Linked DNA regions of Homo sapiens: all the other regions are linked to region 4. The links are contacts of gene promoters, found by promoter capture Hi-C in blood cells and fetal thymus (Javierre and others, 2016). All regions are on one chromosome and are shown on one strand. The core of a region is centred on a gene start or on the middle of the fragment in contact, and the rest is flanking DNA. Distances in the headings are between cores, read along the strand shown. Region 1 holds the start of POLRMT (RNA polymerase mitochondrial). Region 2 holds the start of GAMT (guanidinoacetate N-methyltransferase). Region 3 holds the start of BSG (basigin (Ok blood group)). Region 4 holds the start of CNN2 (calponin 2).

Evidence for each region. Contacts are between HindIII fragments. The CHiCAGO score rates a contact against its expected background, and 5 or more counts as called.
Region 1: a contact is called between the fragment with the promoter of POLRMT here and the fragment with the promoter of CNN2 in region 4, in 1 of 17 cell types (non-activated CD4 T cells). The highest score is 7.0, in non-activated CD4 T cells.
Region 2: a contact is called between the fragment with the promoter of GAMT here and the fragment with the promoter of CNN2 in region 4, in 2 of 17 cell types (M0 macrophages and monocytes). The highest score is 7.7, in M0 macrophages.
Region 3: the fragment with the promoter of BSG here is called in contact with the fragment with the promoter of CNN2 in region 4 in 1 of 17 cell types (erythroblasts); the score reaches 7.9 in erythroblasts.

What each region holds. Positions count from the first base shown.
Region 1 is chr19:631,761-635,092 of GRCh38, forward strand. It overlaps POLRMT (RNA polymerase mitochondrial), which reads right to left and starts at 1,777. Exons shown (of 21, transcript NM_005035.4): 1 at 1,665-1,777; 2 at 1,074-1,178. The coding sequence starts at 1,752. It overlaps LOC105372234 (a long non-coding RNA gene), which reads left to right and starts at 1,704. Exons shown (of 2, transcript XR_936226.2): 1 at 1,704-2,135; 2 at 2,224-3,332. RefSeq lists silencers at 1,561-1,720, 1,731-1,990. The HindIII fragment of the contact is 10,035 bases long and covers 1-3,332 here.
Region 2 is chr19:1,400,104-1,402,970 of GRCh38, forward strand. It overlaps GAMT (guanidinoacetate N-methyltransferase), which reads right to left and starts at 1,439. Exons shown (of 6, transcript NM_000156.6): 1 at 1,193-1,439. The coding sequence starts at 1,373. RefSeq lists a silencer at 1,177-1,756. The HindIII fragment of the contact is 12,931 bases long and covers 1-2,867 here.
Region 3 is chr19:570,994-574,190 of GRCh38, forward strand. BSG (basigin (Ok blood group)) reads left to right here and starts at 1,603. Exons shown (of 9, transcript NM_001728.4): 1 at 1,603-1,708. The coding sequence starts at 1,642. It overlaps BSG-AS1 (BSG antisense RNA 1), which reads right to left and starts at 1,255. Exons shown (of 3, transcript NR_184018.1): 1 at 1,116-1,255; 2 at 447-603. RefSeq lists enhancers at 1-423, 504-553 and silencers at 1,374-1,593, 1,764-1,943. The HindIII fragment of the contact is 7,021 bases long and covers 1-3,197 here.
Region 4 is chr19:1,024,811-1,028,138 of GRCh38, forward strand. It overlaps CNN2 (calponin 2), which reads left to right and starts at 1,798. Exons shown (of 7, transcript NM_004368.4): 1 at 1,798-1,914. The coding sequence starts at 1,852. RefSeq lists an enhancer at 724-1,455 and a silencer at 1,446-2,085. The HindIII fragment of the contact is 13,555 bases long and covers 1-3,328 here.

The sequences.
Region 1 (3,332 bases), core at 527-3,026, 390 kb before region 4:
GAGATGGAATTTCCCTCGTTGCCCAGGCTAGAGTGCAATGGCATGATCTCGGCTCACCGCAACCTCCACCTTCCGGGTTCAAGCGATTCTCCTGTCTCAGTCTCCCCGGGTTCAAGCGATTTTCCTGCCTCAGCCTCCTGAGTAGCTGGCACTGCAGGCGTTCACCACCATGCCCAGCTAATTTTTGTATTTTTAGTAGAGACAGTGTTTCACCATGTTGGCCAGGCTGGTCTTGAACTCATGACCTCTTGATCCGCCCGCCTCGGCCTCCCAAAGTGCTGGGATTACAGGCGTGAGCCACCGCACCAGGCCTCGGACCCTTGACCTCTTGATCCGCCCACCTTGGCCACCCAAAAGTGCTGGGAGTACAGGCGTGAGCCACCGCACCAGGCCTCGAACCCCCGACCTCTTGATCCGCCCACCTCGGCCACCCAAAAGTGCTGGGATTACAGGCGTGAGCCACCGCACCTGGCCAGGTTTTTTCCCTTTATAAAGGTTCTCCCGCCTCTCCCTTCCCGGCTGCCTAATGGACGCAGACAGGATGTGGGACAGAAGCACCGGCGGGAAGCAAGCACAGGGAAGCTCCCACCTCCCTCCCACACCACCAGCCAGGCCAGGACGAGGGCCTGCCACCGCTGGAGCCTGGGCTGTCCCTCCCAAGTTTCGCAGTCATCCAGTCTCCATTAGGCGCCTACCCCCCAGAGCCAAGCCAGGACAGCTGAGTCAGTTCAGGGTTCACATCCTGGCTCTGCACATGTGGCCTTGGCGGCGGGGCCGGGGGGGGGGTCTCTCCAGACATAATCTTGGGCCTCACCTATGTCCCTGGAAAGTGGGAGCACCTGGTGGGGTTCTGGGGAGGGGGAATTACGAGAGCTCCAGGAAGGAGCCTGCTCAGCAAGGACAGGGCCCATGAGCGGTGCAAGAGATGTTTCAGCAACGCCGTCTGGGCGTGTCCTGGGACCCGAGAGGTGGAGACCGCCCTCAGCCTGTCTCAGAATCTGAGCCTTTGCCTTTTCTCCCGGCAGCAGGGAGCGGACTCTCCTCTCCCGGGCCGCCGTGGGGGTCGCGCTCACCCTCCAGCAGCTCCACGTGGCCCCAGTCCTTCCTGCGGTCTTGGTCTTGCTCCTGGGGGCTGGCGGACGAGCTCCTCCTGGGGCCGCAGACGCCACCGGCGGTCCCTGCGGGAAAGACGAGAGCGGCTGAGCGGGGCCGGGCGTGTGGGCGGGGGCCTCCATAAAGGCAGAAGCCGAAGGGTCGAAGGGCAAAGGAGCCCTAAACGCAGCGGAAACTCTCGGAGCACGGGCTTAAGTTGGAAAGAAACTAAGACAGCGAAGGTGGAAGGGCCCCGCCGCGGCGAACACGGGCGCGGAACCGCCGAGAGAGGGTTCCTCGCACTCGAGGTGCAGCAGGTCAAAGGTTAAGAGCCCTAAACACCACACCTGGGGTCAGGAGGCTGCATAAGAAACCACGAGTCAAAGGTCAGACTGCACGGAGGAGCCTCAGTCGAAAAGCGGGCAAGGGCGAGTGGAAAGCGGGGCCGGGTCGGTGGGCTGCGCACGCCCAGGTGCAAAGAGGCAAAGGTCAAAGCGCCAAAGGCCCCGGCCGCGCGGGGAGGAGCCCACGCCGTGGCCCCCGGGCTGCCTGGCCGTCTCCCTTTGTGTTACCTTCTTTGCCGGGGAGTCCCGGGCGGCCGCAAGGCCGTAGGGCTCGTTTGAGCCCCGCCGCTCCGCGGCCCCAGCAAAGTGCCGACATTACGCACGCCGCTCCAGGCCACCCCACCGGCCCGCGCCTGCGCATGCGCCCGCGCCGCCTGCCGGGAGTTGTGGTTTCATGGTCGACGGAGGCTGCGAAGGGAAACCCCAGCCGGAAGTAGACTCCCAGGATGCAGCGGAGGCGCGAAGGCATGCGCCGGTGGACGCTCTGATTGGTTCCTCCTGCTGTTTTTAAAGGGAGGGGGCGGGACAGAGCTGTTGCCGTGGCAACTGGGAGGCACTCTCAGGCTGTTTTCCCGAGGACCTCAAATCCGGACTTTTTTTCTGTTTTTCTTTCTTTTTTGGTTTTGTTTTGGACGCGTTGTGGCCCAGGCTGGAGTGCAGTGGCGTGATCATAGCTCAGTGCAGCTTCGAACTGCTGGGGTAAAGAGATCCTCGCCCCTCGGCTTCCCAAAGCGCTGGGATTGCAGACGCCGCCACCGTGCCCGGCTTTTTTTTTTTTTTTTTCAAGGCATACTCATCTAATAACGAGGACAGCATCTGCAATTTAGAGATTCCTGTCCGCAACCTTCATTGCTCCAACGACAACTTTTGGGTAAGAGTCATTAGGATGCCGTCTATCATGGAGGAAGCTGAGGCTCAGAGAGGGCCACCAAGTTGCTGGAAGACACAGCACGTGCGACCTCAGGGAGGCTGCAAGGAGAGAAAGCCCCAGTCCGCGAGACTCCCAGCCTCCAGCTTCAGTTTACCCTCCAATCCCCAAGCCCTCAGGGGCAGGAGCCGAATGGAGCGGCAGGCTTGGATTCACCTGCTAAGTGGGGTGAGGTCAAGGGAATGAAATAAACCTCGGAGCCTAGAGCCTGCCCTGGTCTCCGCGTGATCCTGCCTAGGAGGAGCAGGGCGGGAGCTTTAGAATGGAACCTGGAAGGTGTGCCCACCTGTGTCGTTCAGCCGGGGCAGCAGGCCAGAGGCGGGAGCGCCTGCTGTGGGGCAGTAGGCTTGGGAAGGGTGAGAATAGGAATATCTGGGGGTAACTGTGTTCCAGGCTAATATCCCAGTTGCAAAGGGGAGCTGGTTTGGTGGCTCAGGCCTGTCATCCCAGCACTTTGGGAGGCTGAGGCGGGCGGATCACCTAAGGTCAGAGTTCGAGACCAGCTTGGCAAATACGCAAGCATGCCTGGCAACATGGCAAAACCCCGTCTCTAGTAAAAATACAAAAATTATCCGGGGGTGGTGGCGGGCACCTGTAATCCCAGCTACTCGGGAGGCTGAGGCAGGAGAATCGCTTGAACCCGGGAGGCGGAGGTTGCAGTGAGCCAAGATCTCGCCACTGCACTCCAGCCTGGGTGACAGAGCGAGAACCTGTCTCAAAAAAAAAAAAGTGCAAAGGGAGGTCAGTTCAGTGCCTCAGGCCTGTAATCCCAGCACTTTGGGAGGCTGCGGCGGGAGGATCGCTTGAGCCCAGGAGTTCCAGACAAGCCTTGGGCAACCGAGATACTGAGACCCAGTCTCCACCAAAGGAAAAAAAGAAATTAGCCAGGCATGGTGGTGCACACCTGTGGTCCCAGATACTCGGGAGGCTGAGGCAGGAGGACTGCTTGAGCCCAGGAGGTTTAGACT
Region 2 (2,867 bases), core at 189-2,688, 370 kb after region 4:
AGGCTGCCTGGAGGAGGGGGTGTGGGGCAATGCTGGGGAGGCTGCCTGGAGGAGGGGGTGCGGGGCAGGGCTGGAGAGGCTGCCAGGAGGAGGGGATGCAGGGCTGGGGAGGCTGTCTGGAAGAGGGGGTGCAGAGCAGGGCTGGGGAGGCTTCCTGGAGGAGGGGGCACAGGGTAGGGCAGGGCTGAGCTGGGGGTCTGCTTGGAGGAGGGGGTGCAGGGCTGAACTAGGCTATGTGAGTCACATTTGCCACAGGACGGGAGGGCACCCTGGGCCAGCATGGACAGAGGCGGGCGGAACACAGTAGTCCTGAGCGGGAACAGCGTGGGCCCTGGCCAGCGGCCAGAGAGAGGATGACCAGCCAGGGAGGCCGAAGACGGCCGCTTTTGGGGCCAGGCCTGTGGGGAGGCGAGAGCCTTGGACTTTGAGCCCAGCCCACGCTGTTTGTCCCGGGTCCCTTATCTCTCGGGTTAGTTACTTTTCTCTCCCCCTCCCTCTATCCGAAAGTTGGATTTGCAAGAGTGGCCAGGCAAGACCTGGACTTGAGACTATCTGGGAGGGGAAGGACTGGTCCCCAGTGGGCCACACATGGGCCCCCCGCTCAATCCTGATTGGCACTGGACACTGGACGTGCCCATTTTCAGGGTGGGAACACTGAGGCCCGACCCCTGGACGGGGCCTGTGTGGGGCCAGGGAGTCCTTTCTTAGCAGCCCTTAGCGTCTGACGCCAGGCAGGCCAGGGCCACCCCGGGGACAGCTGTCTCCCTGAGCTCAGCTTTCCGAGTGCTATTCTTAGCCGGGCGAGTCGGGGCTGCTCTCCCAGGCAGGCAGAAGGGCAGCCTCTCCCTGGCACGACCCCTTCCTCCCGACCTCAGACAGGGAGCTGGGGACCCGGTTCCACCCAGTTTCACCCAGGTCTCACGTTTGAGGTCCCCATCTGGAGAGCGGGGGGCCTCACTCCCCCTGGAGAGGAAGTTTCTGGTACTTAGGCGGTGCCTAACGTGTGCGGGCCCCACGCCTGCCGCACTCCCCGTGAACGCCTCCGTGTGCCCCCACCTGCAGCCCCACTTCCCAGGCGAGGAGACAGAGGCGCCCCGGCGGGAGGGTGGGCTGCAGAGTCCCCGGGTCGGGGCAGCCCCGGCCTCAGTTTCCCCTGCGCCCCCGGGGGCGGTGCAGGCCGGGCGGGGGCTACCTTTGGAGGAGGCGGCGGCGGCCAGCGCGTGCATATAGGGGGTCTCCCAGCGCTCCATCACCGGCTTGCCCAGGATGCGCAGGTGCGTGTCCGCTGCGTCGTAGGCCGCGGGCGCCGCCCCCCACGCGGGGCTGCAGTTCTCGCCGGGCGCGAAGATGGGGGTCGCGCTGGGGGCGCTCATGCTGCAGGCTGGACGGCGACCCGACCTCGATCGCGCGCCGCCCGGGCCCGCTCCCTGCAGGGGCTTGTGGGCCGGGGGCGGGTCCAACAGGCCCGGGGGGCGGACCCGCGAGAGGACGCGCGCGCGCGGCTCCGGGAGCGGCCTCTAGCGGCGGCCACGCGAGAGGTGGCGGGAGTGGGGTCGGGGCCCCGGCCGCCCCCTCCCCAAGGAGCCTCGGTGCCCCCTCTGCGGAGCGGGCACCGCAGCCCCGCGCCCGGGGACGCGAACCTGCAGGCTGGGGACTGGAATCCCCGCCTTGCCGCTTACGCGCCATAGATTCCTCATCTGTCAGCACCGCAGAAAGGCCCCCTCCTCGCTGGGGTGTGAGAATCTGAGGATCTTCCAGGCGCTGTTGGAAGTGCTTTAAGTGTTTAAAATCATTTAATCTTCAGAAGATGCTACAGTGAGTTCTGTCTTTTTTTAATAGAGACGGGGTCTTGCTATGTTGCCCAGGTTGGTCTCAAACTCCTGGGCGCAAGCGATCCTCCCGCTTCAGCCTCCCAAAGTGTTGGGATTACAGGCGTGAGCCACCGCGCCCGCCAGGTTCTATGATGACTGTCGTTTTTCCTTCCTTCCTTCCTTCCTTTCTTTTTTGAAAGCAAGTTTATTAAGGAATAAAAATGAATGGCTACTCCATAGAGCAGCCGACTGTCATTTTACAGATGTGGAAACTGAGGCTTTGAGAAGCAAAGCCGGTGGTCTGGTGGCCACGAGGGTGGGGACCCAGCATTAGAGCTCTGATGCCCCCCTTTCATGAGCCCATGTCACACCCCCATAGGCTGGGGGTCATCTGAGACCCCGGGTCCCTAATGGGGGATTCCGCCCAAAGACGCCTCCAGTTCTGGAGACCAGGACTCAATCCCAGCAGTGCCCTTTCCTCCGGCGGCCCTGCAGCTGGGGTGTGCGGGGGTGGAATTAGGCCTCCCCCAGCCCAGGGTAGCCCCTTAGGGTCAAGCACACCCCCCGCCTGTTTCCTGGGGGCCCCCAAGCCCGCTGCGGTGGCGTCCTGGCTCTGATAGCCGGTTTCCTTCCCCCTCTGAACGTGGGGCCACAGTCATGAGCCCTGAGCACTGCCTGCCTGCCTGCCTGCCTGCCTGCCGTGCGTTCTGCACGGGTTAACAGATGCAGTTATTATGCCCATTTAACACGAGGGAAACTGAGGCCCAGAGAGGTTGAGGTTCACAGGTTGCAGCAGGGCCACGGTGTGAACGCAGGCAGCCTCGGAAACAGCTCCCGCGCGCGGCCTTCCCTGCGCCACCTTGTCTGGGTAGCTGCCTGCCCCATCACTGCCTGCTCAACGCCTCCACATGCCCCTGCCACCTCTTGCACAGCTCCTTAGCCCCGGGCCTTGGCACACGCTCTTCCCCTTGCCCAGACAGCCTCTCTCCTGGTCAGGCCGCTTTCTCGTTCTGTCTCAAGCTGAGCCCACGTGTCCTCTAGGAGACACCCCCATTC
Region 3 (3,197 bases), core at 353-2,852, 450 kb before region 4:
AGATCGCGCCGCTGCACTCCAGCCTGGGTGACACAGCGAGACTCCAACACACACACACACAAAAGATATGGCGCGTCTCATTCATTCACAAGTTCCTCTTCAAAGGTTTGGCTCGTTCAGCGCCCTCGTTCTTCGTTTCCTACTTCCAAGGCCAACCTGACTTCCTCACCCTCTGGGCCTCCCCGTCTGAGTCTCAGTAAACAAGTTTCCCGCCGGTCCTGATCTGCAGAGATGGCACCTGCCACCCACTCTGCACATCCCCCTCCCGTCGCCACGGGCTCTTCCCGCCAGTGTAGCCACATTCCTGCCCCTTTCCAGTTAGCCCTTCGCGTTCGGCTTAGTCTGCGGTCCTCTTGCATTGCGACTCCGAGTTTAACTTCCAACACACACTTTCAACCTCCAAGAGACGCCCCCACCTGTGTCGCCCCAATAGCGACTTTTCTCACCGTGGTCGCCGCGGAACTTCAAGGGTCCTTCCTACCCGCGTTGCTGAGAGTCTGGGTTTACGCGTCACCTCGGGCGGGACCCGATCCTCCGCTCCTGAGGCCCCCACAATGAAGCAGTCGGACGCGTCTCCCCAAGAAAGGTAACCGCCAGCCTCTCCTGAAACAGAATGGGATCCAAATGGGATATTTGGGGGCGGCGAGTCGGTCCCGCAAAGAGAAACCAGCACTTAGAAAATTTCTCAGCGAGACCACTTTACTTGTACGGAAGGGGGCTGCCTGCGTGGGATGCAATCTCCAGAGCACACGGGACAAAGGAAGGGAGCTTCTGTTCCTCTGTCCTTTCCCTGTTGGCTGGGGTTGGACGCCCACAATCTAAGCTGATCCCGGTTGGCTAAAACTTAAAACTTTTTTAAAATAGGGTAAACGCGCCACCTGCGAGGAAAGAAGAAGGGGGTAAGGTTGATTGACAACTTTAGACCTGGAAGTTGAGTTTCTGAAGAGGAACTTACTTGTCCCAACCAAATGGTGCACAGGACGTTTATACTAAGAAATTATTCATTTTCTGAGATCCAGATTCAAGTGCCCTTTAAGTATTTTTATTTGGGCGGAGGAGGTCACTTCCTCCCACCTAATTTATTAATACGTTCATATATATATATATATATGTACATTTTTAAAGGCAGAGATGTGCGTCTCGCCATGTTGCCGCGTCTGGTCTCGAGCTCCCGGGCTCAAGCGATCTTCCCGCCTCGACCTCCCAAGGCTCTGGGAGTACAGACGTGAGCCACAGCGGCCGGCCCGTGTTTAACTCAGATAAAATCTGGGTAACACACTTTCAACGCTTCAACCCCCTCGGGCGCACCGCTCTGCGCTCATTGCAACTTTGAAAGCAGGAAGGAAGAAATGCGCAGGCTCCAGCCGCGTCCCCGCAGGCCCCACTCCCGTTTCCTAGCAACGCCGGGTCACGTGCGCCGCCGCCCGGATTCCGTAGCGTGAGCCTGCCGGAGCCGGCGCGTACATGCGAGCGTGTGCGCGCGTGCGCAGGCGGGGCGACCGGCGTCCCCGGCGCTCGCCCCGCCCCCGAGATGACGCCGTGCGTGCGCGCGCCCGGTCCGCGCCTCCGCCGCTTTTTATAGCGGCCGCGGGCGGCGGCGGCAGCGGTTGGAGGTTGTAGGACCGGCGAGGAATAGGAATCATGGCGGCTGCGCTGTTCGTGCTGCTGGGATTCGCGCTGCTGGGCACCCACGGAGCCTCCGGGGCTGGTGAGGAGCGGGTAGGGGGCGGGGGTGCGGTCCTGCAGGGGCCGGGAATGGAGGCCGCGGTGCCGACCCGAAGCCGACGGGAGCCTGGGGCCTCGGCGCGGGGCGGCCTGGGGTGCGAAAGGCCGGCCCCGGGGGCTTCCCGCGCCAGCATGGAGCTTGGGGGTGAAGTCCCAGGGTTTGAGGGGGGACTAGAGGTTCCTCCCGGCGCGGCCTGCCGGGCTCCCCCGGGCGCTCCGGCCTCGAGCCCGGCCTCTGTGTGTGGGCGTGAAGCTCCCTGCTTGGAGGCGGGAGCCAGGGGGTCCTGGCCAGGCCGGTCTTGGTCAGGGGAGGTGGGCGTCTTGCTTTTCGGTCACCTGGGGTTGGGGGTGACCTGCTTCCTGGGTGAGGGCGTCTGCGAAGGCGGTTGGAGGTGGCCCGCCCGCCGGTCCCATCGGCCAGGAGAAGGGAGACCCAAAGCCTGGGTGAGCGTCCCCTTTGGCCTGGAGCCAGGGGTCAGGGGCTGGTTGGTGCCTGCCCAACCCGTCCTGCTGGGGCTGGACTCCGCAGGACCTGGGGAAAGCGGCCTGGGCGTGGAATCTGGAGACGGGTCCACCCTGCCTGCGAGTGTTAGGGTCAGAGACCCTCCCCTGAGACTCTCTGGGGCCCCCGCAAGGGCCCGTGCGGCCTGGAGCGATCATCTTGGCGCTCCCTTCTGGAAAAGGGGCTTTTGTCCTCCAAGAGCACATGGAGGCTCTGAGTGGGTCAGCCCTCCGGATCGGGAAGGGATTACCGTTCTTCACGGGATTTAGCCCTGGCGTCTTGCCTAGGGCGTGCACCTGCCCCCGGGTGTTCTCCCAGACTCTTAAGACCTCGCAGGCTCCCTCGAGGGGCCCTGCGTGGAAGGGAAGGCGGAATCTCCCTCTGATTCTGCCTGGATTCAGCACCCAGAATGAGGTGGTCTCTGAACGCCCCTCCTCCTTTACAGGCGAGGAAACAGCCCTGTGGGAAGTCGAGGTTCCAAGGTCACAGTGAGGGGGCCCTGGCCACCCGATTCAGCGCAGGAAATAGTGAGAAAGTCGTTTTTAGCCGACTCTGACCCGCATTCGGTTTCCAGTGCTGTCTTAGGAGGGCCGTGTGTTGAGGGTGGGCAAACGTGGTTTGGAGAGCGCATTTGGGAAATGGATTGAGGTGTGTTTTTCCGGGAGAAAAGCATGACATCCTTTCTTGCTTCATAGAAAATTTCTTCCTTTGTTGAGACCCCCATTTGGTTCTGGGTTAAAGATTTATAGTGAGGCCGGGCGTGGTGGCTCACACCTGTAATCCCAGCACTTTGGGAGGCTGAGGCGGGTGGATCACCTGAGGTCAGGAGTTCAAGACCAGCCTGGCCAACATGGTGAAACCCCATCTCTACTAAAAATACAAAAATTAGCTGGGCGTGTTGGCGCACGCCTGTAATCCCAGCCACTCAGGAAGCTGAGGCAAGAGAATCGCTTGAACCTGGGAGGTGAAG
Region 4 (3,328 bases), core at 548-3,047:
TTGCAGTGAGCCAAGATTGCGCCACTGCACTCCAGCCTGGGTGACAGAGCGAGACTCCGTCTCAAAAAATAATAATAAAATAAAATAAAAAGAACATGAAGTATTTGCTTCCCTGATGGCACCAGCCACACTTCCAGTGCTCAGTAGCCCCATGGCCAGTGGCTACAGTAGTAGATAGTGCCACATTGAAAATTTCCTTCATCTCAGAATAACAGAAATGGTCAGCACTGGTCTAAAATGACATGGGTCGGCCAGGTGCAGTGGTTCAAGCCTGTAATCACAGTACTTTGGGAGGCTGAGGCGGGTGGATCACCTGAGGTCAGGGGTTCGAGACCAGCCTGGCCAACATGGTGAAACCCCATCTCTACTAAAAATAAAATAAAATAAAATAAAATAAAATAAAATAAAATAAAATAAAATAAAATGTGTCAAACTCCTATTGATGCTTCAAAACCCCATCTCCCTTGCCTCCTCTTACATGCAGCTTTCCTTGATTCCTCCGACAGAGCCCCAACTCTCCCTCCAGTTCCTCCAGCCCCAAGCCTCTCATTCTGTCCTGTACTTGCTCATATAGGGAAACAGGGTGGGCGGGGTGGGGGGGTTCCGCCTGTGCTGGCTCATACAGGGAATCCGGGTTGGGGGTTGGTCTGTGCCAGCTCTGTCTTCCTGGGCATGGGCTGGGCCAGAGCTAAGGTCTCCTGAGAGCCAGCACTGCCTGGCAGGAGACTGTCCCGGAGACTTTTTAATAATTTATTATTATTAGGGTTTTTTTGTGTTTTTTTTTTTTGTTTTTTTTTTTAAGACGGAGTCTTGCTCTGTCGCCCAGGCTGGAGTGCAGTGGCGCGATCTCGACTTACTACAACCTCCGCCTCCTGGCTTCAAGTGATCCTCCCACCTCAGCCTCCTCAGTAGCTGGAATTACAGGCATGTGCCCCCATGCCCGGCTAATTTTTGTATTTTTAGTAGAGACGGAGTTTCGCCATGTTAGCCAAGCTGGTCTGGAACTCCTGACCTCAAGTGATCCGCCCGCCTCGGCCTTCCAAAGTGCTGGGATTGCAGGCGTGAGCCACTCGGATTTTTATTTTTATTTATTTATTTATTTTTAGAGAGAGGCTCTTGCTCTGCTGCCCAGGCTGGAGCGTCATGTTGTGATGATAACTCACTGCAGCTTCGACCTCTTGGGCTCAACGGATCCTCCCCCTTCGGCCTCAGCCTCCCAAGTAGCTAGAACTCCAGGTGCAAGCTACCGCACCCAGTAAGAATCCTATTCTCTTTTGGACTGACAAACTCCTACTCATCCAACAAAGCCCCAGCTCCAATGGCCCCTTCTCTGAGGAACCTGCCCTGGTTCCCTGGTCCACCTCCCAGCTAGTAGAGTTCCCTGGGAAGGGGTTAGACGCCTCTAAGTGGCAGAGAGGGGCCCTCATTCCTGCCCCAAAGGTAGCCTTCTCCCCTCCCCTTTCTGGCAGAAGAGAAGTCTGAGATGGAGAAAGAGTGAGAGCCGCCCACGAGCTCTGAGCAGAGAGCCCGCAGGAGTGCCACGTCCCGGCGGCCTCGGCCCCTCCCTGCCTCAGTTTCCCGTGGCATCAAAGGGGGCGAGGGGCCCCTCCAGGCCTCTGGTGACGGGGGTGCTGTGCCCAGGCGGGGGTCCGGGGGCGACCGAGGGGGCTCAGGAAGTCCGCGGCCGCAGGAATTCGGCGCCTCCAGGCCTTATAAGGACATTTGCGCTCCGGGCCAATCAGCGGCGGGGGCGTGGCGCGCGGAGCCCGGCGCGTCCCAACCCCGCGCCAGCCCGGCGGTCCCGTCCCGTCCCGTCCTGTGCGGCCCCGTCCCGCCGCCCGCCCGCCAGCCATGAGCTCCACGCAGTTCAACAAGGGCCCCTCGTACGGGCTGTCGGCCGAGGTCAAGAACCGGGTGAGTGAGGGGCGCCCCTTGTCCCCCCGACAGCGCGGCCGTCGCACGCTCCGACCGGTGCAGGAGCCCCCAGGCGCCCCCGGCACCTCCCGGGCAGGGAGCTTGGAGACCCGGGGCGGACGGGCCCTTGTTCTCCCTGACGCCTGGTGGGGGGATGTCTGCGGGCACCCCCTGAGGCTCCCGCGAATCTTGGGGAGCACCCAGGTCTGAGATCTGGGGGACGAGTGACCCATTCCCCCCCCCAACATCTAGGGGTAGTTGGGTCTGACTTCGTCCCCTCGCCATGGCCCCAGGACCCCCACGTGTGAAGCCCCTGGCGCCCACTCAACCTTCGAGAAGGTCCGTTCAAGGTCCGACAACGCTCTGGGGGTCTGGGGGGGACCCCAGCAACCCCGTCATCTCCTGGCCACACTTCTGCTTTTGGGGCCTCTTAGCTTTGGGAGGGGAAGGGGCATGGCCGAGTGGTTTTTGAGAAGTGTTACCCCCCCACAAACAGGAATTTCCTGGCCTCTGGGACACCTTGGGGGTGTCTTGGGGGGAGGGGCGGTAGCCGCTTTGCACGGTCTTTGTCTCCCATCTGACTAATTTAAACGGATAACAAAGAGGTTCTCTGAAGGTGGCCCTGAGATATGTGGGGTTTTGCAGCCTCGAAAGAAGAGCTGGGGCCCGGCAGGGCGCGGGGGCTCACGCCCGTAATCCCAGCACTTTGGGGGGCGGAGCTGGGTGGATGGCTTGAGCCCAGCGAGTTCGAGACCAGTCTGGGCAACATGGCGAAACCCCATCTCTATAATTAAAAACAAGCCAGGGCTAGGGGAGACACTTTTTAAGAGAGCACTTGTGGTTCTAGCTCAGAGAGGACCAGACACTTCTGCAGGGTCACACAGCAGGGTCCTGGACAGGATTCCCAGGGAAAGTGGGGGGCGGGGGTTGTGATGCGAGACCCACGGACAGGACCGGGACCTGACCCTCCAGGACCTTCCAGCTGGAGGGGGGTGTCGTCCCCGCCCACCCCCTCCCCCGACGCCCACTGGGCACCTGGGAAGGTGTCCTTACAGCTGACTTCTGCAGGGGAAACTGCCTCTGCACGCTCTGAGGGCACCGGCCCTGCCAGCCCCAACAGCCACCTGCCCGGCGGCACTCCAGGGCCGGCAGACTGGAGGGAGAATTCCTGCTTCCCCGCTGTGAGCCCCTGCAAGCCTTCAGACCAGCTCTTGGCCAAAAAGGGAGGCTGAGGCTTGGGGTGGTCAAGGCCTGAGCCAGGGTCCCCAGCCCGGGGCTCACGACTCCTCCTTCAAGGGGCCATCTGCACCCTGCATTCATAGAGCCCCCCGTGCAGTGGGGTGGGCACCCTGCCGCACCCTGCATACAGCCGGCTAAGGGCACCGGTGTCCACAGGGACCCAGAGACGTCGTTC